7 separate regions of the Homo sapiens genome follow, and all the other regions are linked to region 1. The links are contacts of gene promoters, found by promoter capture Hi-C in blood cells and fetal thymus (Javierre and others, 2016). All regions are on one chromosome and are shown on one strand. The core of a region is centred on a gene start or on the middle of the fragment in contact, and the rest is flanking DNA. Distances in the headings are between cores, read along the strand shown.

The links. The method cuts DNA at HindIII sites, captures the fragments that hold promoters and counts their contacts. A CHiCAGO score of 5 or more calls a contact.
Region 2: a contact is called between a fragment that was not itself captured here and the fragment with the promoter of KCNJ1 in region 1, in 2 of 17 cell types (activated CD4 T cells and non-activated CD4 T cells). The highest score is 5.8, in activated CD4 T cells.
Region 3: a contact is called between a fragment that was not itself captured here and the fragment with the promoter of KCNJ1 in region 1, in 4 of 17 cell types (activated CD4 T cells, naive CD8 T cells, M2 macrophages and 1 more). The highest score is 6.3, in activated CD4 T cells.
Region 4: a fragment that was not itself captured here is called in contact with the fragment with the promoter of KCNJ1 in region 1 in 1 of 17 cell types (monocytes); the score reaches 5.5 in monocytes.
Region 5: a contact is called between a fragment that was not itself captured here and the fragment with the promoter of KCNJ1 in region 1, in 2 of 17 cell types (neutrophils and monocytes). The highest score is 6.3, in neutrophils.
Region 6: a fragment that was not itself captured here is called in contact with the fragment with the promoter of KCNJ1 in region 1 in 1 of 17 cell types (non-activated CD4 T cells); the score reaches 7.0 in non-activated CD4 T cells.
Region 7: a contact is called between a fragment that was not itself captured here and the fragment with the promoter of KCNJ1 in region 1, in 7 of 17 cell types (neutrophils, non-activated CD4 T cells, total B cells and 4 more). The highest score is 11.2, in neutrophils.

The regions. Positions count from the first base shown.
Region 1 is chr11:128,865,782-128,869,378 of GRCh38, reverse strand. KCNJ1 (potassium inwardly rectifying channel subfamily J member 1) reads left to right here and starts at 2,083. Exons shown (of 3, transcript NM_153766.3): 1 at 2,083-2,206. It overlaps LOC107984409 (a long non-coding RNA gene), which reads right to left. Exons shown (of 3, transcript XR_001748442.2): 3 at 2,200-2,629. The HindIII fragment of the contact is 3,543 bases long and covers 392-3,597 here.
Region 2 is chr11:128,135,361-128,139,123 of GRCh38, reverse strand. All of the region lies in intron 2 of LINC02725 (long intergenic non-protein coding RNA 2725), which reads right to left. Among named protein-coding and RNA genes, the nearest start is that of LINC02725, 41 kb to the right of the region's middle. The HindIII fragment of the contact is 4,086 bases long and covers 60-3,763 here.
Region 3 is chr11:128,023,748-128,027,144 of GRCh38, reverse strand. No RefSeq gene overlaps it. Among named protein-coding and RNA genes, the nearest start is that of LINC02725, 70 kb to the left of the region's middle. The HindIII fragment of the contact is 1,678 bases long and covers 1,215-2,892 here.
Region 4 is chr11:128,086,354-128,090,081 of GRCh38, reverse strand. No RefSeq gene overlaps it. Among named protein-coding and RNA genes, the nearest start is that of LINC02725, 7.5 kb to the left of the region's middle. The HindIII fragment of the contact is 2,694 bases long and covers 23-2,716 here.
Region 5 is chr11:128,195,157-128,198,468 of GRCh38, reverse strand. No RefSeq gene overlaps it. Among named protein-coding and RNA genes, the nearest start is that of LINC02098, 12 kb to the left of the region's middle. The HindIII fragment of the contact is 5,347 bases long and covers 1-3,312 here.
Region 6 is chr11:128,040,939-128,044,284 of GRCh38, reverse strand. No RefSeq gene overlaps it. Among named protein-coding and RNA genes, the nearest start is that of LINC02725, 53 kb to the left of the region's middle. The HindIII fragment of the contact is 5,296 bases long and covers 1-3,346 here.
Region 7 is chr11:128,174,796-128,178,350 of GRCh38, reverse strand. All of the region lies in intron 4 of LINC02725 (long intergenic non-protein coding RNA 2725), which reads right to left. Among named protein-coding and RNA genes, the nearest start is that of LINC02098, 32 kb to the left of the region's middle. The HindIII fragment of the contact is 382 bases long and covers 1,977-2,358 here.

The DNA of each region.
Region 1 (3,597 bases), core at 834-3,333:
TCCTCTCCCTCAGTCTCCTAGTGGGAGATGGCCCTAGGGGGTGGGCTGAGGAGGAAGACAGAAGGCTGACACTCGGAGTAGGTTGGATTTCAACCCTGTTCATTCAATGACAAGTGTATTACATATGCTATCTCTTGAGCTTCCCACTGTAGACTTCTGAGGTGAGAAGCTAGGTAACTTGCAGTTGGTAGAGCAGGGTCTCAACCCCACCACTGAAGTGCAAAGTCTGTGATGTAAAGTTCTGCATTGCCCCGGGACCAGGGTGGCTGGTGAATGGCCAAGAGAAAGTCAGGTCAGCCTGACCTTCTAGGGCAGGAGTCCCCACACCTGGTCTGTGGCCTGCTAGGAACCAGGCTGCACAGAAGGAGGTGAGTGGTAGGTGAGCAAAGCTTCATTTGTATTTTGACCACTCCCTATGGCTCACATTACTGCCTGAGCTCCGCTTCCTGTCAGATCAGCAGCGGCATTACATTCTCACAGGATCCTGAACCCTTTTGTGAACTGCGCATTCGAGGGATCTAGGCTGTGCGCTCCTTATGAGAATCTAACGCCTGATGATCTGTCACTGTCTCCCATCACCCCCAGATGGGACTGTCTAGTTGCAAGAAAACAAGCTCAGGGCTCCCACTGATTCGACATTATGGTGGTGTTGTATAATTATTTCATTATATATTAGAATATAATACATAATATATATTATATGATATATTAGAATATAATACGTAATATATGTTATATAATATTTAGAATATAATATGTAATATATGTTATATAATATTTAGAATATAATACGTAATATATGTTATATAATATATTAGAATATAATACGTAATATATGTTATATAATATATTAGAATATAATACGTAATATATGTTATATAATATATTAGAATATAATACGTAATATATGTTATATAATATATTAGAATATAATACGTAATATATATTATATAACATATTAGAATATAATACGTAATATATGTTATATAATATATTAGAATATAATACATAATATATATTATATTATATATTAGAATATAATACAGAATATATATTATATATTAGAATATAATACATAATATATATTATATATTAGAATATAATACAGAATATATATTATATATTAGAATATAATACAGAATATATGTTATATAATATATTAGAATATAATACAGAATATATGTTATATAATATATTAGAATATAATACAGAATATATGTTATAGAGTATATTAGAATATAATACATAATATATGTTATATAATATATTAGAATATAATACATAATATATATTATATTATATATTAGAATATAATACATAATGAAATAAGGAATATAATAGAATATTATTTCATAGAATAGAATAGAATATTATTTCCTTCTATAATAGAATAGAATATTTCATTATTTCATCCCATATTCATTATTTCATTCTATAATATTATAGAATAGAATAGAATATTATATAATGTAATAGAATATTATTTCATTATATATTAGAATATAATATATAATGAAATAAGGAATATAATAGAATATAATAGAAGTAAAGTAATTATTATAAGTAAACACAGTAGAAACAAAGTTCACAATAAATGTCATGTGTTTGAATCATCTCGAAACCATCCTCCCCCACCACCTCCCTGGTCCATGGAAAAAATGTCTCCCATGAAACTGGTCCCTGGTGCCAAAAAGGTTGGGGACTGCTGTTCTAGGGCCACTGAGTGATTCACAGGACAGGAGACATTTGTGAGGGGCTCCTTGGGGACCCCTACTTCCCTGCCCTGTAACATCCAGCCTCATGTGCGCACGTGTTCAACTTCATGCCTTTGACTTAGACACATCGACATGAGCATACCGGCCTTCTGGTTCCAAGCCAGGGTTCCATAAACAAATCCTTCTTAGTTAGCCTTGGTAGCTCAACACCTTTGGTATCTCACTCACTTAACTGCCACGCCTACTCTTGTTGGATCCGGTTATAAAGTAAACTATGTTCTTTGAGAACTGTTGCATACAGATGAGTTGGCAGCCGGTCTGAGCTGGCCCACAGACTCATAAAATCAACAGGGCCTCGGGTACCCTCACCTAGCATATCCAAACTCTTGCATCAAAGGTGCAGGGACTTGCTCACATCGAGAATCTGGTTGCTTTCTTGGAGACCAAGAAAATGAGTTTTTGTTTCTACATTTACTCCAGCAATCCATGAGGTAAGAGGAGAAACACCTCATTGTCTCTTTGTAGGAAAAAGAAGTTAATTCTTGTGAAAATTTAGACCTCTTTTCCCCGCCTCAAATCTAGGCAGACTTGTCTGTCCACTCCTGGGGGATAGATAGAAGCATGGTTTTAACTCACTCACTGGATGCTTTTGGTGTGCTGGTTACATGTGGATTATTAGCTGTGTGCTGCATCTTGCCTTCCCTGGGTCACTCCGCAGCCCTGGGGCTGGAGGGCAGTAAGAATCTTTGGTTGCATCATGCCTGATTCCAAAGTCTTCTTTTGGTGGCAGAGATGTATGTAGGGTTTTCATCTCTGGTGGCATCCTTTCAATTGTAGCAAGACCTTGCCTAGTAACACAACCTCTGCCAAGCCGTTTCCATCTTTAAGGTAGAGGATCAAGGTGCTAGTGGGGTCTATTATGGAAAACATATATCAGGAAAAGGCAAGAGTTAGCCAGACATTTTGATTACCTTCACCCAAATGTCTTTCTTTCATTTTCTGATGTAGGACTTTATAGGAATTTTGCACCATTCTGAATGGATACATTTGGATTTCTCAACATTTGTTCAGCTTCCTAATGACTGTTGTGACAATTGCTCTATACCAGTGAATGCCAACTGTTTATCTCTGCTCTGAACAGGTATGGAGCCCCTTCTCCCAATATCTGTATCTTACAGATTTGGTGCATAGACGCTTAAAAGGAGTTGGTCTTTCGCAACCAGCAATCTTTAGGAAAAATGATTGAATTTTTCTCCTTTTAGCTGGGCTTACAAAATGGAGCAAAACATAGTGATTGTGCTATGGACCTTTTATGGACAGGGACTTGGCAGAGCCACTCACTGGATGCTTTTGATCTGCTGGTTGTACCTGGATTATTAGTTGCGAGCTGCACGCTGCCTTCCCTGGGCCATTCCGTAGCCCTGGGGCTGGAGGGCAGTTAGAATCTTTGGTTGAATCTTCGGTTACATTGGAGGAGCTGCCCAGTCTTTGTGGGCTCCCTTCAGTCATGGGCTTGGCTTGTGTTGTCTTACTCTACACTGTTTAGTGTAAATGGATTCTCACTAAGTCAGCTTCAGCTTTTAAGAGCATGATGGGGTGGAGATATCTGGGAACGTATGGGCCATCAGAAAAGCATTTTTTTATACTCAAGTCATGAAGGTGGATTTCTTCTGTGTAAGGAGGTGCACCAAGTCAGTGTAGGTGCAAGACTGCCCTTGTAAAGAAGCAGAGTATGTGAATTCCTTGTGAGTGGGTCTTAATCTTTAATGCTTTAATGACTTTTGGTTTGCCTGATTTTTTTTAATATAAGAAGTTTGTAATTGCCAAGCATGCTTTTCTGTGAAGAGCTAAGTCTCAAAATTCCCCATTCACGTTCTTTTCC
Region 2 (3,763 bases), core at 853-3,352, 730 kb after region 1:
AAAATGTAGAGATTGTCTTAAGAATAACTTCCCCCACTGGATTTTTTAACTCTCAAGCTTATCTACTCTGAGCCTCCAAAAATTTACTAATTAGCATTTAAGTTCTCCCACCATGATACTGGATTCAGAGGTAGACTTCTGGGCTGCTGCTCTGGTAAGCTGTGATTATCCATATTCACTTGCCTCTCCAATTTAGAGGGTAGCAGTTTTCCCAAAACTTACCCAAAGGGGCTGTAGCCAATTTTGAGAGCTCTCTTTACTGAAGGCATGGAAATTGAAAAAATTTTAAGTTGAGACCCTAATTATTTTAGCTCCACTTTCATTAAATGAACCACTTTCAGTTTAATTAACATTCTTACAATTTGGGAACAGAAAGAGCTCTTAGGTAAAACAAAAATTTCCCTCATCTAGAATTTCGGAAAGTACATTCCATGAACAAGTAGTGCTAGAAGGTGTTTATTAGTGTTCACTGAAAATCCCAGTTCCATGGTCAAGTAACTTTAGTAATGACTGCGTTGAATAAAACCAGATGAATTTTTTTTTTTTTTTTTTTGAGACGGAGTCTCGCTCTGTCGCCCAGACTGGAGTGCAGTGGCGCGATCTCGGCTCACTGCAAGCTCCGCCTCCGGGGTTCAAGCCATTCTCCTGCCTCAGCCTCCCAAGTAGCTGGGACTACAGGCATCCACCACCACGCCCGGCTATTTTGTATTTTTAGTAGAGACGGGGTTTCACTGTGTTAGCCAGGATGGTCTCAATCTCCTGACCTTGTGATCCACCCACCTCGGCCTCCCAAAGTGCTGGGATTACAGGCGTGAGCCACCACGCCCGGCCATGAATTTCTTTACTATAGAATTTCTCCCATCATTTATGTTAATATTCAGTGCTAATCTCTGCGATAGGAAGTAGAGTGCTTTCTGTGTACCTGCTGAGGACTGTTTGTCAAATAATGACCACAAAAGGTGACCACAGAAAGAGCTAGTATTTCCAAGCATACACTTCAGTAAATTTAGCCCTATGTCTATTTGGAATGATTATTTGCTTATGTTTCTAGAGACATAGCAGAGATTTCCGACATCCTACAAATGCAATTCACAAGACATAGCTGTCGCAGAGCCACCAAGATGTCCTTGTTGGGCATGGAACAGGGCACTTCCTGGGCTCTCTGTCAGGCCTCAACTTATCAAGATAATTGTTGGGGTGAGAAAATCAGTTGAGCGACTACTGCCCTGGAGAGAGTTAGGGAAAGAAGGTGGTGAACCAAGAACAAGTCAAATAGAGCCATATAACTGAGGCCAAGTAGGCAGTGACTGAGTCAGCACTGATTTGCCCATTGCAGGGAGTACACAGGGGAAATCAGCTAATCAGAGCTTCCGGGCAACTCATTACCCTTTACAGTGGAAAGCATTTATAATGGAGGCTTCTTCCCTGACTTTAAATAAAGCGTGTCTTGGGAAAATTACTTTCTAAACTGGGCTGTAATGATCCAACTCCCTATTCAATAGATGACTGTGTCGTTTTAACTTCCACAGGTATTAGAATAGCACAATAATATTCGTGTGGGGAAGGCAAATTGTGCAGTCTATAGAGAGGTTAAATGAATGAAGTCAAAATTGTAGAAGTAATAAGGCAATGTGATTCAATAGGAAAATAACTATTATTTTATGAAAATGTATTGTCTGTAGAGATCTTCAAAGGGCTGGAAATGGTCCTGTTATTCCTATTCAGAAGAGAAACTTTAGATCAATAGTACTCTTTATGGCAAAGAAATTGGCCAGTAGAGGAAAGGGTATAGACATTAAAATAGGTTAGACTTGGGTTTTAAATTCCAATCCATTGATTGTCTTTTCCTTAGCATGGAGGCTAGGACCTGCGTCAAGTCATAAAAAGCCATAAATAGTTACAAGGCCTCAAATAACTTTCATCATGCTCTACCTTGATGCATACCTTGGTTCTTCAGCAATATGACTTGGAAACTTTGTTGTTCTCTCAAAGCCTCAATTCCTCCTCTGAAAAATTGGATTAGTCCTACTTAACTCATAGAGTTCAAAGGAGGTAAATTTTAAGTGTACATAAAGTGTCCAGCAAAATTCTCAAGCATACAATAAGTGACAAAAAAGCATTCACTGAGCGAGTTAGTGGCAGGCTAGGCACATTTTACCCTCTTTGGTAAATTACCAACCATCAATGCTGACATTTTCTTTAAAAGGCAATAAAAGGCCTCCATTATCAATCACTCATGTTCCAGGGAAAAGTTATTTAATCTGAGATGGCTGTATAACTTCAGGTAAGCTATTTAACAACTCTGTTCTTGGCCGGGTGCGGTGGTTCACGCCTGTAATCCCAGGACTTTAGGAGGCCAAGGTGGGCAGATCACGAGGTCAGGAGATTGAGACCATCCTGGCTAACACGGTGAAACCCCGTCTCTACTAAAAATACAAATATTAGCCGGGCGTGGTGGCGGGCCCCTGTAGTCCTAGCTACTCGGGAGGCTGAGGCAGGAGAATAGCGTGAACCCGGGAGGCAGAGCTTGCAGTGAGCCGAGATCGCGCCACTGCACTCCAGCCTGGGTGACAGAGCGAGACACCGTCTCAAAAAGAAAGAAAGAAACAAACAAACAAAAAAAATCTCTGTTCTTCTGTCATGTTTCTTTTGAAATAATTCCATCCCATCTTAGTACAAAATCGATTTGGAGTTAGGAGACCTGGAGAGGATACTCAGCTTCCTGAGACTTTAGGCCAAGTTCCTTAACATTTCTGAGTCTGTTTGCTTGTGCATAAAATGCCTATGATACTTGTCCAATTTATTTCATAGTTATGTAGTCAGGAGCAATTGAGATGAAGTATTTGGAAATCCTAAATTAACTTTGTAAAGCAGGCTATATCTCTAGGTTGATTTCAATGTTGTTTCTCCAGCATTGGAAGAAGAGAGTTCACAGGTCTCTACTGTTGGGGGTCCATTAGGGTGCAAAGACTTTGCTTGGGAATTAGGAGATCATGGTTTTCATTCTAACTGTATCTTCCTGTGCTATCTTAGACATTTAATTTTATCTCTTTGTTCTCCATTTAATAAAAAAATTGTTCCCCATATGACAAAAGAAATTCAGGGAGTAGAAGAAAAGAAGATTTGATCTCGACTCTCCATTCTAAAAGTCTAAGAATATTACAATCCTTCTTTTCTGTTGGCATTCTAAAAAATGGAGTCAACATTTGTAGGTCTAACTGGATTCAGTTGTTTATAGAGCGATACCTGCCAGAGGCATATAGTGTAGTTGGATAATCCTGCTGTATTTCTGTAAAATTACCTTTTTCTTTCAGAGGAAACAAAAGCACAGCTTGGTCTCTTTTTTTTGAAAGAACCTTTTGTCTCGCATTCTTGTTGGTCAGATACCAGGTGCCAAGAAGCAAGTGATCCCAAAGGAATTTCACTTTGGCACCACCGAGGACAAAGGGGTCATTTAAAAATTTCACAACCATGGACAGGCTCAGCACCTAGTTTGAAGCATGGAGCCTGATTAATTGGACTGTCATTTCCAACAATTCTGAGCTTTGGCCTTTTCATTTGCCAGAAGGAAAAAGAAAGCAACATTCCTACACTTAATTTTCACAACCTTGAGCCAACAGTATGTGACAAAATCAACCTATTTCTCAACCATGGATTTCTTCTCCCTGTGATGCTTAACCTCACTGGTTCTTTTCAGTTGTCAAATTGAGGTAACATATAAAACTGAAATGTGAATGCAAGAAACCACTCCCATCCACACACT
Region 3 (3,397 bases), core at 804-3,303, 840 kb after region 1:
TCACTCATGAGAAAACAGGATTAGAAAAAATAAAATATTGCCCAAGATTCTATACTAAGTTCTAATGCAGTAGGATGACCTGGTCTAGCTGATGCCAAGACAATAATGCTCTTTAGCTGTGGTTTTGCTTTCTGCTGTTCCAGTGACCCAAGGTCAATCAAGAGCCAAAAATATTAAATGGAAAATTCCAGAAATAAATAACTTATATGTTTTAAACTGCACACTGTTCTGAGTAGCATGAAGAAATCTTGTGCTGTCCCTCTCCCTCCCGGGATGTGAATCATGCCTTTGTCCAGCGTGTCCACGCTGTCTACAATGCTCTCCCGTGAGTCACTTAGTGGCTGTCTTCATTATCAGATGCACTATTGCAACATTACAGTGTTTGTATTTGAGTCAACCTTATTTCACTTCATAATGGCCCCAAAATGCAAGAGTAGTCACGTTGGCAGTTCACATATGCCAAAGAGCGTCATAAAAGGCTTCCTTCAAGTAGAAAGGTTAACTTAATAAGGAAAGAAAAAAAGTTGTTTGCTGAGGTGACTGAGATTTCTGGTAGGAACGAATTTTCTATCCATTGCATTGTGAAGAAGGGGGACAAATGATGCTGGTTTTGCTGCCACCTCTCACACTGCAAAAGTTTTGGCTACGGTGCATGATAAGTCCTTAGTTAAGGTAGAAAAGGCACTAAATTTCTGCATGGAAGACACGAACAAAAATATGTTCCAATTGACAGCAATCAGGTTTCATACTGGGGGTCTTGAAACATATTCCCCACTGGGCATCCACTGGGGGTCTTGAAACATATTCCCCACAGATATGGGGGAGTGCTGTACCTACAATATTATCCTGTACCCCATTTTACCTTCCTGTGCAAGACTGTTAAAGGGGTTAAATGAGATGATGCATGCGGAAAGCCTATCACAGATCCTGAAGCAATAGGTTGCAATGAATGTTAGTTAAAATCACAAGTAGGTTCCCAGGAAGCAGACCCTGAGGCAGAGATAAGAGAGCAGAATGTGTATCAGAGAGTATTGTTGGATCAACACATGGGGGAAAGAGGGAGAGGAAGCAAGATTGGACAGAAAGTTGAGTTGATTTGCAAGGAAGCCTCACAGCCAATGCCATAGGAAGCTTGAGAGCTAGGCTGGTTCACTGGAGTTGTCATGAATTGGAACAAGGGAGCCACATCTTTATAACCCTGCATTGATCAAGCTTTAGATGAAGCCTGCCCTGAGAAGGAGATGTGTGACTTTGGGTGAAACAATTTTCTTCAGCCAAGGCAGTCGTCAAAGAGGTCTGAAAGCTGAGGCAGTCAGCTGCTAGCAGCTATGGGGAAACGCCCTTCACTCCTGAAACTGTCACACTGAGGTATCCATCTGTTGTATTAATACTTGCAATATTTATTGCTTTTATTATTATTATTATTGGCTTCATTACAATATTTTGTTAAAATTTTTTCAAGTTTAGACATGTTTGAAAATTGATGATTTAAATAATTTAGACCTACTAGAGAAGCGGAAATTGAGTCCTAGAGTGAGCTGGGTGGGAACCCCAGTGTGCATCATGTATGGGCTAGGACCCTGGTCCAGCCCTCTAGTATCCTGTCTGCCTTCAGTCTTTAGTCTCCAGTTCTTTCCTCCCTTAACTACTGGGTGAATGAAGCCCTTGTCATAGTCTGAGCCATCTATAAGTAAGAGAAACAACCCCCAGACCTACATGCATTTGTTTCATTGGAGAACCAGTGTGTTTCAAAATTAAACCTTCACCTAGTTAGGTATTTAGGGACTAGGGATGCCATTAGAAGAAATAGGATCCACTCTATGACTCTGGGATGGGACAGGATTCATGAGATTTATGGCCATGAAGGCCTTTGAGGATAACTTCTATGGTTATAAATTAGGTATAGGAGTATAATATGCATTCCTCCGGAAAAAGCTAAGAGCAGAGAAATAGAAAAGGAGAGTGATAATCTTACCTAAATTCTAATCCTAGGATAGCTGCTGCAGTTGAGCACAAAATCTGGCTGTGAGTTTCCTGGCAGTCAAATGGCTTCACAACCCTCTTAAAACTTCTTCTTTATGGGGAGACCAGGGACTCAGAGAGAGCTAAGTGTTGAGCTCAGGAGAGTCTCACCTGAGATAGGTTCATCTGTGGACTCCTCTTACAGATGATAGACAGGGAAGCCTTAGATGTCATACGACACTTGGGGATGTGGTGTGGTATTTAAGTGTGGGTGTACGTATGTGTAAATGTGTGTCCACTTATTTGAATCATCGTATTTACACCTGTGCAAATTTGTGGTGGTTTAAAATATCTCCACTGATCATACAGTGCCTATCTGTAGATGCCCCAGGAATATTCAACCAGCATTAACCCTGTAGGAGAAAATACTTTACTAATGCCAACTTCTAGGAAGATGACAAGTATAATTTCCAGTTGTCATTCTTGCCCTAGGGGGCTTGAACAGAATATATTAATGAGGGCCAGGCTGCCTCGGGCTCTTCATGAGGCTACTTCTTAATCATTTAGCCATCTGATCACACCACCTCCCAGCCTTGACCCACAGCAGAAATTTAGAGCTCTTAGGAAAAAGGCAGGCAGTATAAGATGGTGAAGATTGTATGGCATGCATCTTCCTTTCAAACATGACATTAGAATGAGATATCCTGACTGCCCTTTAGTTTCACAGTGGCCCATTGGGAGCCCTAAGGATCTGATTGTAAGGTAAACACCAGAAAGTGATACGTACATAAGCAATGTGTTCTCTAGACTTCTCTGTACCCAAAATTATTAGTTGACACCATTAGCATTAGTAGTGTCTTTCCTTCTTCCCTTTGATAAAACAAGAACACAATTGTAACCCTAATGGGCCATCTTTGAAGAACAGAAGCTTATGTTTCTGATCAATATACCAGCAAGCCCACTTGACAAAAGGGTTAGGATGGTATTAGAAACTAATCTTTAAAAAAATGTCCATGCTTATGTTAAACAGTGCTAGCATCTTTCTCTAGTATCCTTTTTGCATTAAAAAATAATGCTTAGTGAGCTTTTACAAGGTGCTCAGTGCTGGGCCAAGCACCCCCATGTCTGATCTCATTTAATCCTCTCAACAGCCATATGAAGCAAGTACTATTATTAGATCTGGTTTATAAGTGAAGAAACTGGGGTTTAGAGAATAATTTGTTCAAGGTGACTTAACCAGTAGTGGAGAGATACCGACTTAGTGCAGTTTGATGGCAGAACCAAGCTTCTCAACCATCCTGCTGTACTCACTCTTATGAAGATATCAGAGGATAGCAGAGAGAAGACTGTTTCTATTTCTTTGTCTCTGGGGTGCTCTGTGACCCACTGCTAGTCTTCACACCTACAGATAATTCTTATTAGAATTTGAAATAAA
Region 4 (3,728 bases), core at 120-2,619, 780 kb after region 1:
GAAATTCATGCAGAAAAAAGCTTGTATTACCATGAGCAGAGCATTAAGAACAATTCTGACAAGGGCTCAGAAGAAGAGGAGAGATATAGGGAAAAACTTGCCTTTTTAGACATTATTTAAGTGGTCATGAAAAGAATGTTGGTAGAAATATGGAGAGTAAAGGCTATTCTGATGAGATCTTAGGTGGAAATGAGGAACAAGGTATTGGAAACTGGAGATACAACCATCCTTGTTAAAAAGGGGCAATGAGCTTGGTTGAATTATATGTGACCTAGGACCCTGTGGAAGGAAGAACTGAAGAGTGATTAACTAGTGTATTTGTCAGCAAAATATCTAAACAACAAAGCACTTAAGATGCTGCATGGCTTCTTTCAACTGCTTATAGTAAAAGGGAAGAAGGAATAAATAATTTAAAGATAAAATTTATAATTAAAAGAGAAGCAGATTGTAAAGATTTGGAAAATTAGCCTGGCCATGTAAAGAAAAAAAAATGTGTGCTTAGGAAAGGAAATCAAGGATGTAGACATGAGATCATTTTATAAAAAGATTAGTATAAATAGAAGAAAGCCATGTACTATTCATAACGAAAGTAGTAGAATGAACTTAAAGGCATTTGAAAGATCTTCCAGGCTGCCATGCGCATCACAGGCCCAGAGTTCCCTCACCTTGGGGTCAGAATAGTTTGGGGAGAGGTTCCTAGGGTGCTTGTGATACCTTAGCTCTCTGTTCTCTGTATTCCAGTGTATTACTTCTTGGCCACCCTAGCTGTGGTGCAGGTGGGCCTAGGTGTGACTTGAGATGTGACTTAAGGGCACATGCCTTAAACTTTGGCATCATCTATGTGGAATGCAGAGCACACAAGCTGTGGAAGTATGGCTGCCTCTACTTACACTTCAAAGAATATCTCAGACAGCCTTCCTGAGGCAGAGAACTATATAGCAGAGGTGGGGGCTCCAAATACAGTCCATGCTAGGACAATGTCCAGAAGAACTGTGGGGTCAGAACTATCCCCAAGGCCTGTTAACTATAGAGCCACCAACATGCAACTCCTGCCTGGGAGGACTGTAGACACCTAACTATCTCTGAGAGCTGTGGCATGGGCTGCAGTCAGTGAAGCTGTAGGGGAGGGGAGCATCCCCACCCATGTGTGTCCTCTTGGTGGGACATGGAGTTCAAAAAGACTATTCTCTAGCCTTATCATTTAATGTTGTTATCCCTGTTAGGTTTTAAACTTAGTTGGGACCTGCTACCTCTTCCTTCTTACCTATTTATTCCTTTTGGAACAGGAATGTCTATTCTATGCCTGTATCACCATTGTATTTAGAAGTACATAACTTGCTCATTTCACAGGCCCACAGTTTAAGAGAAATTTGCCTCTGGATGAATTGTTCCTTGAGTCTCACCCATTTCTGACTTACTTAGATGGAAATCTGGATTTTAGACTTTTGAGTTGATGTTGGAACAAGTACAGACTTTTGAGGCTATTTGGATAAAGTGAAGGTGCATTGCACGTGAGAAGGACATTAGTGGGGGAGGGCAGGGAAAGAATGCCATAGTATGAATGTGTCCCTTATAATTCAAAATTCATCTCTTGAAAAAACTCTCCAATGTAACAGTATTAAATAGTATGGCCTTTTGGGAGGTAGTTAAGTCATGAGTGCCACACCTTCATGAATAAATTAAAACTGTTATAAGAGGGCTTCGTGAAGGGAGTTCATTCCTTTTTGTCCCTCTGCTATTTAAAGACTCAGTTTTTCTCACCTCCAGAGGACACAGTAACAAGGTACCATCCTGAAAGCAGAGATAACAGCCCTCACTAGACACTAAGCATACTGGCATCTTGATTATGGACTTCTCAGGCTTCAGAACTATATTAAAAATTATGATTTTATAAATTATCCAGCCTCAGGCATTCCACTGTAGTAGCACAAAAAACCCCTAAGACACCCAACAACCAACAATTGGAAAATGAATTTTTAAACAGCAATTCTATTTACATCAGCATAAAAATTTAATACCAAAAAAAGTCCTTAAAACACATGCAAGAGGTGAAAAATAAAATAGTGCTGAGAGAAATAAAAGAAGACATATATAAGTGGATTGATATATCATGTTCATAGGTCAGAAGACAGTATTATCAAGAGGTACATAATGTAGAATGCACATATTGATTGATTTAACACCATTCTAATAAAAAATACTACTTTTTTTTTTAGATGGAGTGTTACCCAGGCTGGAGTGCCATGGTGTGATCTTGGCTCCCTGCAACCTCTGCCTCCTGAGTTCAAGTGATTCTAGCGCCTCAGCCTCCCAAGTAGCTAGGATTACAGGCACCCGCCACCAGACCCAGCTAATTTTTGTAGTTTTTAGTAGAGCCAATGGGGTTTCACCACGTTGGCCAGGCTGGTCTCAAACTCCTGACCTCAAATGATCTGCCCCCTTAGGCCTACCAAAGTGCTAGAATTACAGCCATGAAGCTCTGCACCCAGCCAATACTAGCATTTTGATAAGAAAACTTATAATTTATTTAGGAATTCAAAGCATATATAAGAACAGAATAATCTTGAAGGTCGAAAGAACAACTTTGAAGAACTTTATCTTATTTTCAATTCAATATAATGCCATAGTAACGAAGACACAGTTACTATTGGTAGTATTGGTGCAATATTACATAAATGGATCACTGGAATTGAATAAAGAGTCCAGAAATAAAGCTTCATATTTATATCTAATTGGTTTTCGACAAAGTTGTCAACTCAATAAAGAAAGAAAATTATTTTTACCATATTTTACGGAAGGACTGTATTTTCATTTGTAAAAATAAAAATTGTAATCCTGAACTCACTCCATATACAAAAGTCAATTTGAAATAGAGTGTAGTTCTAAATGTAAATGCCAGGTCCATAGATGACAGAAATAACATTAATCATAAAAGAAAATACTTGAGGGATGGGCCAATACGGCAGACTAGAAGCAGCTCACGTGAGCTACTTTCATAGAGAGAAAACAAAATGGGTAGTGAACCTTGACCTTGCAGGCTGATCATCTGAGAAATCATGTTGGGATTCATCAAGGCAGCAGGGGGACACAGAGAGCAGACAGGAGTAGAGGTAGACACCAGCCTGTCTGGGTTCAGCATGAAGTCAGGAGAACTCCTACAACATGGGAAAGGGTGAGTGAGTGAGAGCCTCCTGGGGGATTCACACTCTTCACAGGGACCTGTGCAAGACTGAGAATGGGAGAATCCTCTTGGCCCCTTTACACTCACCCAACATGTTTCTAGACTGAGACAGAGAGCTACCTGGATGTTTTGCAAGAGAAACTCTCCAATCCAAAAGAAACTACAAGACATGAGCCCCAGAGCAGACCAATACTGGTGCCATATTCCCAACAGAGGCCACAGTCACAATGGCCCTTTCCTGGACAGGGCTCAGCAAGAGATTCCAGCTCAGTTGTCCCACTTCTCCCGGGACTCGGCTGGCAGCCACAGCCTCCTGTTGTCTTGGCAAACACGTGGACAGTAGGGCAGACAACTTCATAACTGCCACTACAGGTAGCTAGGGAGGCAATTCCTGCTGGAGCTGCCAGTCCAGCAGTCCTACTACTATGTGAACTCAGACAGAGGGCACAACCTCCTGTTGTCCCAGGAAACATCACCCAGAGAGCAGGGTGGGCAACCCCACCCACCCCTGCAACTAGTAGCCAGGCAGGCAACTCCTTCTAGAGCT
Region 5 (3,312 bases), core at 177-2,676, 670 kb after region 1:
TTTCATTGGCTTATGGGATTCCACTCCACACAAACAACTACAATGCCAGCTGGTATTTCAGCTGGAAACATCTGCAGGACCATAAATCCTTTCTTGCATAATTTTTTTTCCTGTTAAATTAAGTCCCCCCTTTCTGTTAGTAATTTTACTCATTGAAAAAAAATGTGCTCTGGAGAGTGACAGTCATGAACATAGATGGAACAGAATATTAAATTACAGAATAAAATATTGAAATAAGACAATTATTGGATAATTAGGGCAAAAACTCAATGTATTTATAACTTTCAGGTAATCAGAGCTAAAAAAGCATAATACAATCAAATCAGTTTTTAACATATAGATAGTACCTCTTATTTTTGTTATAGTTTCCAATAAAATCTCCCAGTAGCACAAATTATTGATAGTAAAATCATTGATTAGTGACAGTAGATAAATAACTCGTAATTTTCATCTGACAGCTATTTGATACAACCATGCAGGAATATCATTTTATCATAAGAATATCAAATTATTTGACATATTAATAGTAATATAACATAGTCATATAATAATATAATAGGATTAATTTATCACAATACACTTATGTCTTATAATACATAATGCCAAATGACTTTATGGTAGTAGGGCATCCATTTCACTGATGACTCTCATCCTCCATCTAATTTATGTCTTAGAACAAAAAGAATGCTAATCATCCTTGGGTAGAGTAATTGATTAAGTACTGATTGAGTTTCACTGAAGGCTAACTTATTTTTTAAGGCCCCTAAATATGATGGTGCTATAGGGAGTGCTATTGAAGTGACTTACTGTCCAACAATCAAGAATAAGCATAATTACTGAACCCTCTCCCCCCAATAGCTTTATGATTTTGGAGAAGACAGAAGATGAAGTAGGGAAATATCTCTGGAACAGCATTTATTAAAAGTGAACTTTAGAGATCATTTGCATCTGGATTATCCGTAGGGTATCTCAGAATACCCTACGGATATCTCGCAGAATCTGAGACTGAGATGTAGACTCCATCTTTGGGCATGGCTTGGATCTGTACTTTTCACAAGCTACTTAGGAGACTCTTTGGTACATTAATATTTGAGAATTTCTGACCTAGAAAGTCATGAAATTGGGGAAAACAGGTTTATTAAGCCTGTAATTCATTAATACTGTGAAATGCTTCCTGGAACCACTAGCATTGATTAGTAAACACAAACACCATGGGGCTGCCAATATCTAACTGAAGATCTAATAGGGAAGGTAAGAATGGTACCATTTCTATTAGCACTATTACACCCTCTACCAGTCCCATTTGGTAAATGCTGTCCAGAAAACTCAAATCCTGGGGAAAGTAGGCATTATTACATTTAATCTCACTTCTTAAAATCACTGGGCAAAGTAATTTGGAATTAGTTATACTCTGGAGTGCAGATCTCTTTATTTGGTTCTTATGTTTTTGAAGTCCAATATTCAGATAGATTCCTTTTTCCACCCTCTCCCTATAAAGAATTCAAATCCTAAAGAAATGTGGAACACATTTCTTCCCAGCCTAATGAAAAACAGAATCTTTTACAAATTGTGAATCCACATGTGGGAACTCAGGAGTTTGTATACCGATGTGTGTGAATGTATGATTGTGCAAAGAATTAGACTCCGTTGCGAACACCATCTCAACAGTTCTGCTCACCAAGATCCCTAAGGCCTTACTTAACATTGCATTTTTAATTTACATTACCATTAAAACCTTTTATTGTGTTGTTTAATTCAAGAAGGTCGCTGAATCCATCAAAGTTTCTCATAGATTGACACATGCTCTGGCAATCCATGGAAGTGTCCTTCATGAAGGTTTTCATTACTTTGTGTTTCTGTTATTATCTGCAGACATCTTTCTGTAGTCTGTGATACATTAGGAGTTCAAAAAGAGAAGGTGGCTGCAAGTGTGCTTTACAGTTTGACCAGATGTGTAGCCAGTGTCATGAAATACATCCAATTATACTATAAATAGAGGGCAGAGGCTTACTATTTACCACTTGGTGATTAATAAAATGTGCAGAATGCTGAGACATATCTCACTCCCTATTACTCAATTACTATAACCACTCTTCTTCCAGAAAAAGACAAGTCTTGCAGATGTTAGAGAATGGATTTCATAATGGAAGTCTCTTTAAAATAGCCTGAAAAAAATGGAGCTTAGATTGCAAACCAGAAGAGGCTGGATTTTTCCTCTTTTTTTCCAAAAGTAATAAAACTGCAGACAATAAAGATATTCAAATAAATAAAACAAATCTCTGATTTCACTAAATATTCTCTAAAACTGAAGGTAGAAACCTACACATACATTGTGAAAAATTTGCTCTTGCAATTGGGCTACAGAATGTCCTATAAAATTTACAGCAAAAAATATATTAATCTGTAGTTGTTAAGAAAATTACCTGTCTTATGTGAAAAGTTTTCTATTTTCTTTCTCCCTGTGGTTTCAGGTTTAGACAGTAAGGACGTTTCTCTATTTGAATTTCATGTAGGCTCATATCCAGTAGAAGGTGAATCATGTCTCATATCATGTGGGAGAGCTAGTAAGTTAATTAAAGTGGTTAAGAACTTGGAGAGGGCAAGAAAAAATAATATATATATATATTTTTTATATACAATATATTTATTTTAAATATATACATATATATATATAAATGTAAATATACATATATTTATCTGATAGATACTGGAAATTAAAAATCCAGAGAAATATATGTTGCATTTTTGGGTGGCTGAATGAATGTATACACTTTGTTGATGAAGTGCTTTCCACTGTAAACTTTAAGCCAGGCACTAACCATTTGCCTGCTCCCACACTGAGACCCAGGGCAGGCACGTAAACAGAAGTACAAACTTCCCAGAACAAAATTCCTGCTGAGGATGCAGGGATTATTTATCTAAATTCAAAATAAATCCAGAGTCTATGTTTGTCTAACAGCCTGGACAGACATTCACCCATTCTCTGCTCCCTCACCACCTCAGTTTTTTTTTTTTTTTTCCTGGTAGAATTAAATATTGTCATTTTCTGAACATGATGATTGATGCTTGGGTGTTTCTTTCCTGTGGCTGGCCTTGGCTGTACCGATCTCTCACTTCCCCAGCTGTTTCCTATGTAACTGTTACATAAGATTACTCTTGCCTCTGCTCACTCCTTTACTGCGGGAACCGTTGTGGTTCAGTTGCGTCCAAATGCATTTCAGGGCAAGGCAGTATAATAGAAGCAGGAAGAGATGGCTTTTTGAATTGGTGTACAGCAAAGCCAAGTGGAAAGTAAAGAAATTACATAACAGA
Region 6 (3,346 bases), core at 763-3,262, 830 kb after region 1:
CAAAACATTTTCTCCTCCTTCTAAATTAAAATCATCAAAAGATAATAATAACCAAGACAAAGACTAATTCTGAATAGAATTTTATCACACCCTATTTTACAGAGAAGGGAAGAGATACACAGGGAGTTTACATAACTTGTCAAATGTCACTTGGCTAAATCGGTAGGTTAAATAGGGATATGAACCCAGCTGGTTTCATTCTTAACCACTCCAGATTATTACCTCTCAAAGTCTTGGGAATTAGTTCAGCAACAGTATTTTAAGCAATAAGATTGGCAGTTAGAAGGCAAGGGAGCTTCAGTTTTAAAATTCTGACTGAAAAGACTCTTAGCATCAAATTTTATACCCAGATACACTATCAGATGTGATGATAAAATATTTCTGATATATTGGAGCTGAAAAACTAACTTATTACCACCTTATTTCAGGATGATATTATAATATGTTTTTGAACAAAAAATTAAAGAAAAAAGAGATCAAGAGGAAAATTTTACATCTAGCAAAAAGAATAACTAATGTAAGTGAGCATCAAAAGAAATATTCAGGTTTATACCTGGAAAGAAGACCTTCACAGAAAATAGTACAAATTAGAACAGAGGGCAAATCTGAGTATATGAAAAATAATGCTTTTGGGCCTATGGCAGAGATTAGAATTCTTGAAAAAATATCAGTTACTTTATGGAAAACTAGGTAAATGAAAAATTGAGGAAATAACTCCAAAAAGAAGAGCAACAACAGCATCAGAGGGCTTATAGGAAAGATGGAAGTAGAATAGTGAACAATATTTGGATACTCATAAGAATGTGAACTATCGATTTTACTAAAAGCTGTGATATAACTATGTTAGGAAGCTGGGAGTAGGTGAATCTGGGATGGTAGTGGGTGTAGAAAAGCTAATCCTCATCTCCAATTGTAGGTTATAAGTATATAATGTGTAAAACTTAGATAGATTGATATACACACACATAGAGACACATGAAATATATACATATATATATATGTCTGTGTGTGTGTATGTGTGTGTGTGTATCCATTCTCTTAGATGGGTGAGATCCAATTTGATCTTCCTATTTGTGGTTTCATTGACATTCCTTCCTTTTGCTAGGCATATATATATATACACACACACATACACACACATATACATATACGTAAATATAACAGATATATATATATAAGTCTAGCAAAATAAACATACTATTTAGACATATGAAAGCTAAGATCATGTGAAATAACCAGAAAAATTAAGAAGAGTTACCTGTGGAATAAAATGCCTGAGGAATGGGATGGGGTGGAACAGGATACTCTTTCACTTTAAGACTTTTAGAATTATTTGACTTTAGAAATCATTTACAGTTGTTACTGATATAACATTAAAACTATTTAGAAATTAAAAATTAAAAAACATTTTTACTATGTCTTTCCCTATTTATCAAGGGGGAGTTTGGAGCAGGAACAGAACTTGGGGGAAAAGAGAGAGCTGTTGTTTCCTTTGAGCATAAAAGTAGCCCTTGAATATCTTTGCATGAGGTATTAGGGCAGGAGTGGACAGAAGCAGGCAGGAATGTGACCTATGGATTTGAAACATTAGTTCTCAGTCCTCAGATCATGAGCCATGAAGAGAAGGTCACCAAAGGTTGTAACTATTTTTTTTTCTTTGTTGCCTGCTTCCATCAGTGCAAGCCCAGGTCCTGGCTCATTCTGCTCTACCCCCGCTGTGGAAATGGGGAGGACTGCCTGCCTTTCTGTCCATCCCACCCTGGCTCCCCTCACCAAAAGTGGTGGGGGTGTGGGGTTGCTGGTCGGGCTGGACTGTGAGCACTGACAGGGCCCATTAATCATGCATGTGGCAGGCATGCTATCTCTTTCATCTCCCCTGGGCTTGATTATTTAGGGCAGCCGTGGTGTCCTCTCACTCTCTCTCTAACCATATGCAAATATTTACTCCACTGATTTGTGTGCCACATCCTTTGGTTTCTTTCCTGATCATGAAGCTGATCATAGGAGTGAGATCTAAAGTTTAGGTGTGGGCTTTGGAGTGGGTGGATGCCAGCCTTAGCCCAATTTGGACATTAGCTCAAGCCAAGATATGCCAAGCCAGCTATTTCAGAGAGCCCTGTTTTTAGGCTTGGGTCTTCACCTAGCTTGCAATAAAATGCTACTTTATTTGTTAATTGTCTACTGATCCTTTCACAGGGATCATTTGGGAATCCTATTGGGGGCTGGGAAGGTAGATGGTTTGGAGGGCAAGATTCTGGTATTCCTGGGTCCCGGCTTCTCATCACCATTTAAAAAAAGAGACCCACTTTCACATTTACCTTCACTTCTAATAGACATCATGAAGAATAAATAATCATACTTACTTCATGGAAAGACTTTTTTATGTACAAATGTAAAGACCCAAGAACACATTGTTTATAGTCTTGTTTTCTCACAAATCCTTATACAACAGACCTTGATTATTCATGAGAGACCTAGGGATATTCATAAAGTCCTCTCCAGTCTAGAAGTCTAGATTGCCTATTGGAATTTCCATTCTTTCATGTGCTTTTATAATAATAATTATTATCATTTTATTTCTATTGAAGAATCAGAAACAAAACATTCCACATTGTGTACGTATATCCAAATATCACATTGTACTCTATAAATGTATATATTTATGTTTTGTCAATCAAAAATAATATTAACAATACATTAAAAAATAATTTTAAAAGAAACAAAAGGTCGTGCAAACAAAAGCCAAAATAATAATATGTCTTACAGTAAGTAAAGAATTAATAAATGTTGGGAAAAAACCAACATTCTGGTTATGGGCATTGATCTAATAAGTGTAGTTCCCCCCACCGAGCAATTTCATTATAAAAATGAAGATCATATTCTCTCTACTCAAATTAGAGGATTTCTAATTTTATGCAACTGATTCATCACTTAAATTCAGTAGATGAAACTCTAGCCACAAGACTTATTTCATGTAGGCTCTCACTAAATCACTGTACAATCAATGTATGGATTTGTGTAGGGGTTGGATAGAAGTATTTATCTTTATTTCCCTAATTGTCAGAAAATCAAATTTTGTCATTTAAACATTAATTTCCTCAGTCATTGCATCATGAGAAACTAGGAATCTGAAATTTGTCTCTCACTAACCTAACAGTTTTATTTGAAAAGTAGGTCCAACCCAAAGTCATCCCTCTTGAGAACAGACAACATGAGGTGGGCTTGCTGGGAACGTGTCTAACTACGGACCCTGAATTTCTTGGCCATGGAGTATATATAAGTTGAGTGATTTTTCTCTTGGAAGCTCCTGTTACTTATCCAGCTTCATGTTTTAAGCCTAAGCATT
Region 7 (3,555 bases), core at 918-3,417, 690 kb after region 1:
CAGATTAGAGAACAGATCTTGGTGAATGTCAGTAATTTTAGAAAGGCCGGTGTATCTACAGCCTGACGAGAGGGAGGAGGTGGTATAGGGTGAGTCTGCAAATGTCAATTAAGTGCGGGGTAAATGGAGGCTTTGGGATTTCTATTAAGAATGTTGTATCTTTAAGTATGCAAGGAAGCCACTAAATTAGACATTTTAAGTAGAAGAGAAAACATGATTTAAATATTTAAACATTTGTTTTAATTGCTCCTTGGAAAACAGGGGCAAGATGGGAGTGTCATGAGTGGAAGCAAAGATAGCCTTTGGGAGCCAGGTGAGTACTGGCTGTGGCTTGGGTTTGGATGATGAAGTGGAAGCAAAGATAGCCTTTGGGAGCCAGGTGAGTACTGGCTGTGGCTTGGGTTTGGATGATGATGGTAGAAACAAAATGAAATTGATGATTTAGAGAGCTATCTAGGATGCAAAAGTCAGTAGGATTTGGTAGTAGATTGAAAGTGAAGACAGAGACGAAAATGGCAAGAAGAATGACATGTTTTCTTTCTTGAACAACAGAGTATGTGAACACATGGATCCTTCTCAGAGAGATGGAATTTAAAACAAGAGTGTGGAGTCAAATGTTTTGACAGAAAGCATAGAGTAAGAGGAAAAGGGGGCTCAAAACTGAGGCTTGAGGAATTCCAACTGAAGAGGTCAAATTGGTGGAGGACGTGATAGGGAAAAAAAACTATATTTGGAGAAATGAAAATAAACCAGGAGAATGGAAAGAACCCTATCAAATGCAATGCAGTTGTCAGGTACCATGAGAATTGAAAGATGTCTGTTGGGCTCAGGAGTGTGGAGGTCCTCATGACTACTATAGAGGAGCAGTTTGCCTGGCTGCATGGCATGTTTTGAAGTCCCAAACTCATTACCAGACTGACCCCTGAGAAGAGCTGTGGAAAGCACCAGTGTCTGAAGAGGTTTTTCTCTGTTAGTGCTGAAGGATATAATTGGATGGTTGAATGAGTGGGTGAATAGAGACTTTGCCTGCATCTCCAAACTTGTTTCTTATTTCTTAGTTGTGGCCATTTCTTTCTGGGAGAGGAAGGCATGGGGAAATGGTGAAAAGGGAATAATTGTCACACGTATCTACTAAAACAATTGACTCCACCCTCTTGTTTTAAATTCCATCTCTCTGAGAAGGATCCATGTGTTCACATACTCTGTTGCTCAAACAAGAAAACAGGTCATTCTTCTTACCATTTTCTTCTCCCTCTTCACTTTCAATCTACTATCAAATCCTCCTGACTTTTACCTCCTAGATATCTCTCTAAATTATCAATTTAGATTCCTAAATTAATCAATTCCTAAATCCTCTGGCTGGCCAGATTATAACATGGTAAGAATGAAGGAACTAAACAGATCTGGGGTTGTGAGTGGTGAGTTGTGGCCATTTCTTCCTGGGAGAGGAAGGCATGTGGAAATGGTGAAAAGGGAGCAATTGTTACATGTATCTACTAATTAAGACATCACATCGATCAGGTAACCCGTATTTATCCTCCACCTAGATCAGTCATTCCCAAGCCTGGCTGATCATCAGAATGACCTATGGAACTTTTACAAAGGACACACTTCCAAGTTACACCCCAAAACATCCTAATTCAGCAAGTGTATGCTGGATCTGGGCGTTCAAGTTCTACCTGGTCTACAGTTGAGTCTGATGATCATTCAGTCAGTGAACTGCTGCTTTAATTACTCTTGGTTTTAATTTCTACCCAAAACTCCCTGAAAATTCCAACGAAGAGCTCAGTAACCCTGTTCTTTCTTTTCCTCATTATTTTGCAAAATATAGAACACAAGGGGAACATACTTTTGATTTATTAATGATGCCAAGAAATATCAAACAGTTTATTGTTTCTATTATTAGAGGAAACCAGACCTGAAAAATAAGTGTAGCATAATCATTTACATACACAAGGCCCTTGAATGGTAAAGCTTCTCATGAATATCCTGGGATGAATGCTGGGAGGCTATTACCATCATCAATTCCATTTTTCAGATGAAGAAACCTAATTACCTCTTAAAGACCCCATCTCTTGAAACCATCACATAGGCAACACCTGAATTTTGGAGGGGACACACTGAAACCATAGCAGGGGGCAATATAAAGGAAGAGCCCAGCTTGAGAGGAGCACTTGGAAACCGTTTCTTGGGCCTTAAAGGAAATCTATCCAGGCTGGCGTTTGTTGAGTGCTGCTACTGCTGTTGTGACTGTTTATTTGTTGCTATTGTTGTTGCCTATTTTGTGCCAGTCATCCTACATATTTTACACCTCAGTGCTGAGGACAGCAAGCAGCTCCCCATGTTACCAGGTAAGCTTTCCAGATAAAACACAAGATGCCAGTTAAATTTGAACTTAAGATAAACTATGAGTAATGTTTAAGTATAAGGGTATCTCATGCAATACACAAGACATTTATATTAAAACATTACTTGTTGTTTATCTGAAATTCAAATTTAACTGGGTGCTTTGTATTTTTATTTGCTAAATCCAGCGGCTTTGTCCCTAAGACAAAGTTGGGAATTCTTAAAGAAAGAAAATCAATTTTATTTTTGGAAGCCTCCGATTCCAGCCTATTGTCTTCCTCTGTACACTTTTCCCTGTGCTTGCCACTAAGCTATGTCCAGAGTACAGCTTTAGGATCTCTGGAGCCTCTTCATCCACATAGAGCAGGACAAGTCAATAAAGAGGCAGCATTGGGGGAGCATGAACTTGACCCATTCAAAGTTAATGGTAACACCTTGGTGAGGAAAACAAATGTTAGGGAATGAAACAAAGGTACTTCCTGTAAGGACCACCATTATCACTAACTGAGGGAATTTGAGAGTGCTTCACTTCAAACGGATCTGAGGTATGGAAACCTGAGTTTATACAAATCCAGGGGTGCTTTCGTTTTACTAATTACAAAGGGATCCCTGGCCTTATAAAAAGATTTAAAAGATGTTTGGAACATAGTTTGACTTTTTCTATTCAAAAATCGTTCAATACAGCTGTTATATACAATAATGTACTCATTTATACTTTAATAAAATATAGATTTGCTGTTGTATGGGTTAGGGTCACCAGATTTAGCAAATAAAAACACAGAATGCCCAGTCACATTTGAATTGCACACAAACAACAAGTATTTTTCAGTGTGAGCATGTCCTGTGCTTATACTAAAAAATGAGTTGTTGATCTGCAATTCAAATGTATCTGTGCATCCAGTAATTTACATGGCAATGCTGTATGGATACAGTTTCATATTCCTGATTTTGAAGGCAAAGGAAGATGGAAAAAGGGTTTGGGAAAGGAATAGATAAGAATTAGGTCAGTATGTAATGCACTGAATTTTATCATAGGACCTGCTGGGCTCAGTAGATGTAGCAATTAGGTGCTTTTGACAGTGAGATTTGAAGTCTGTCTTGGAGGTTGGTAGACTTATATTACTATGAAGCCATGAGCCACTCTAGGTTTTGTGACCTAGCCACCCCCGTGACAAAACAGATATTTGCAAAAACAGCTGGGGGACACCT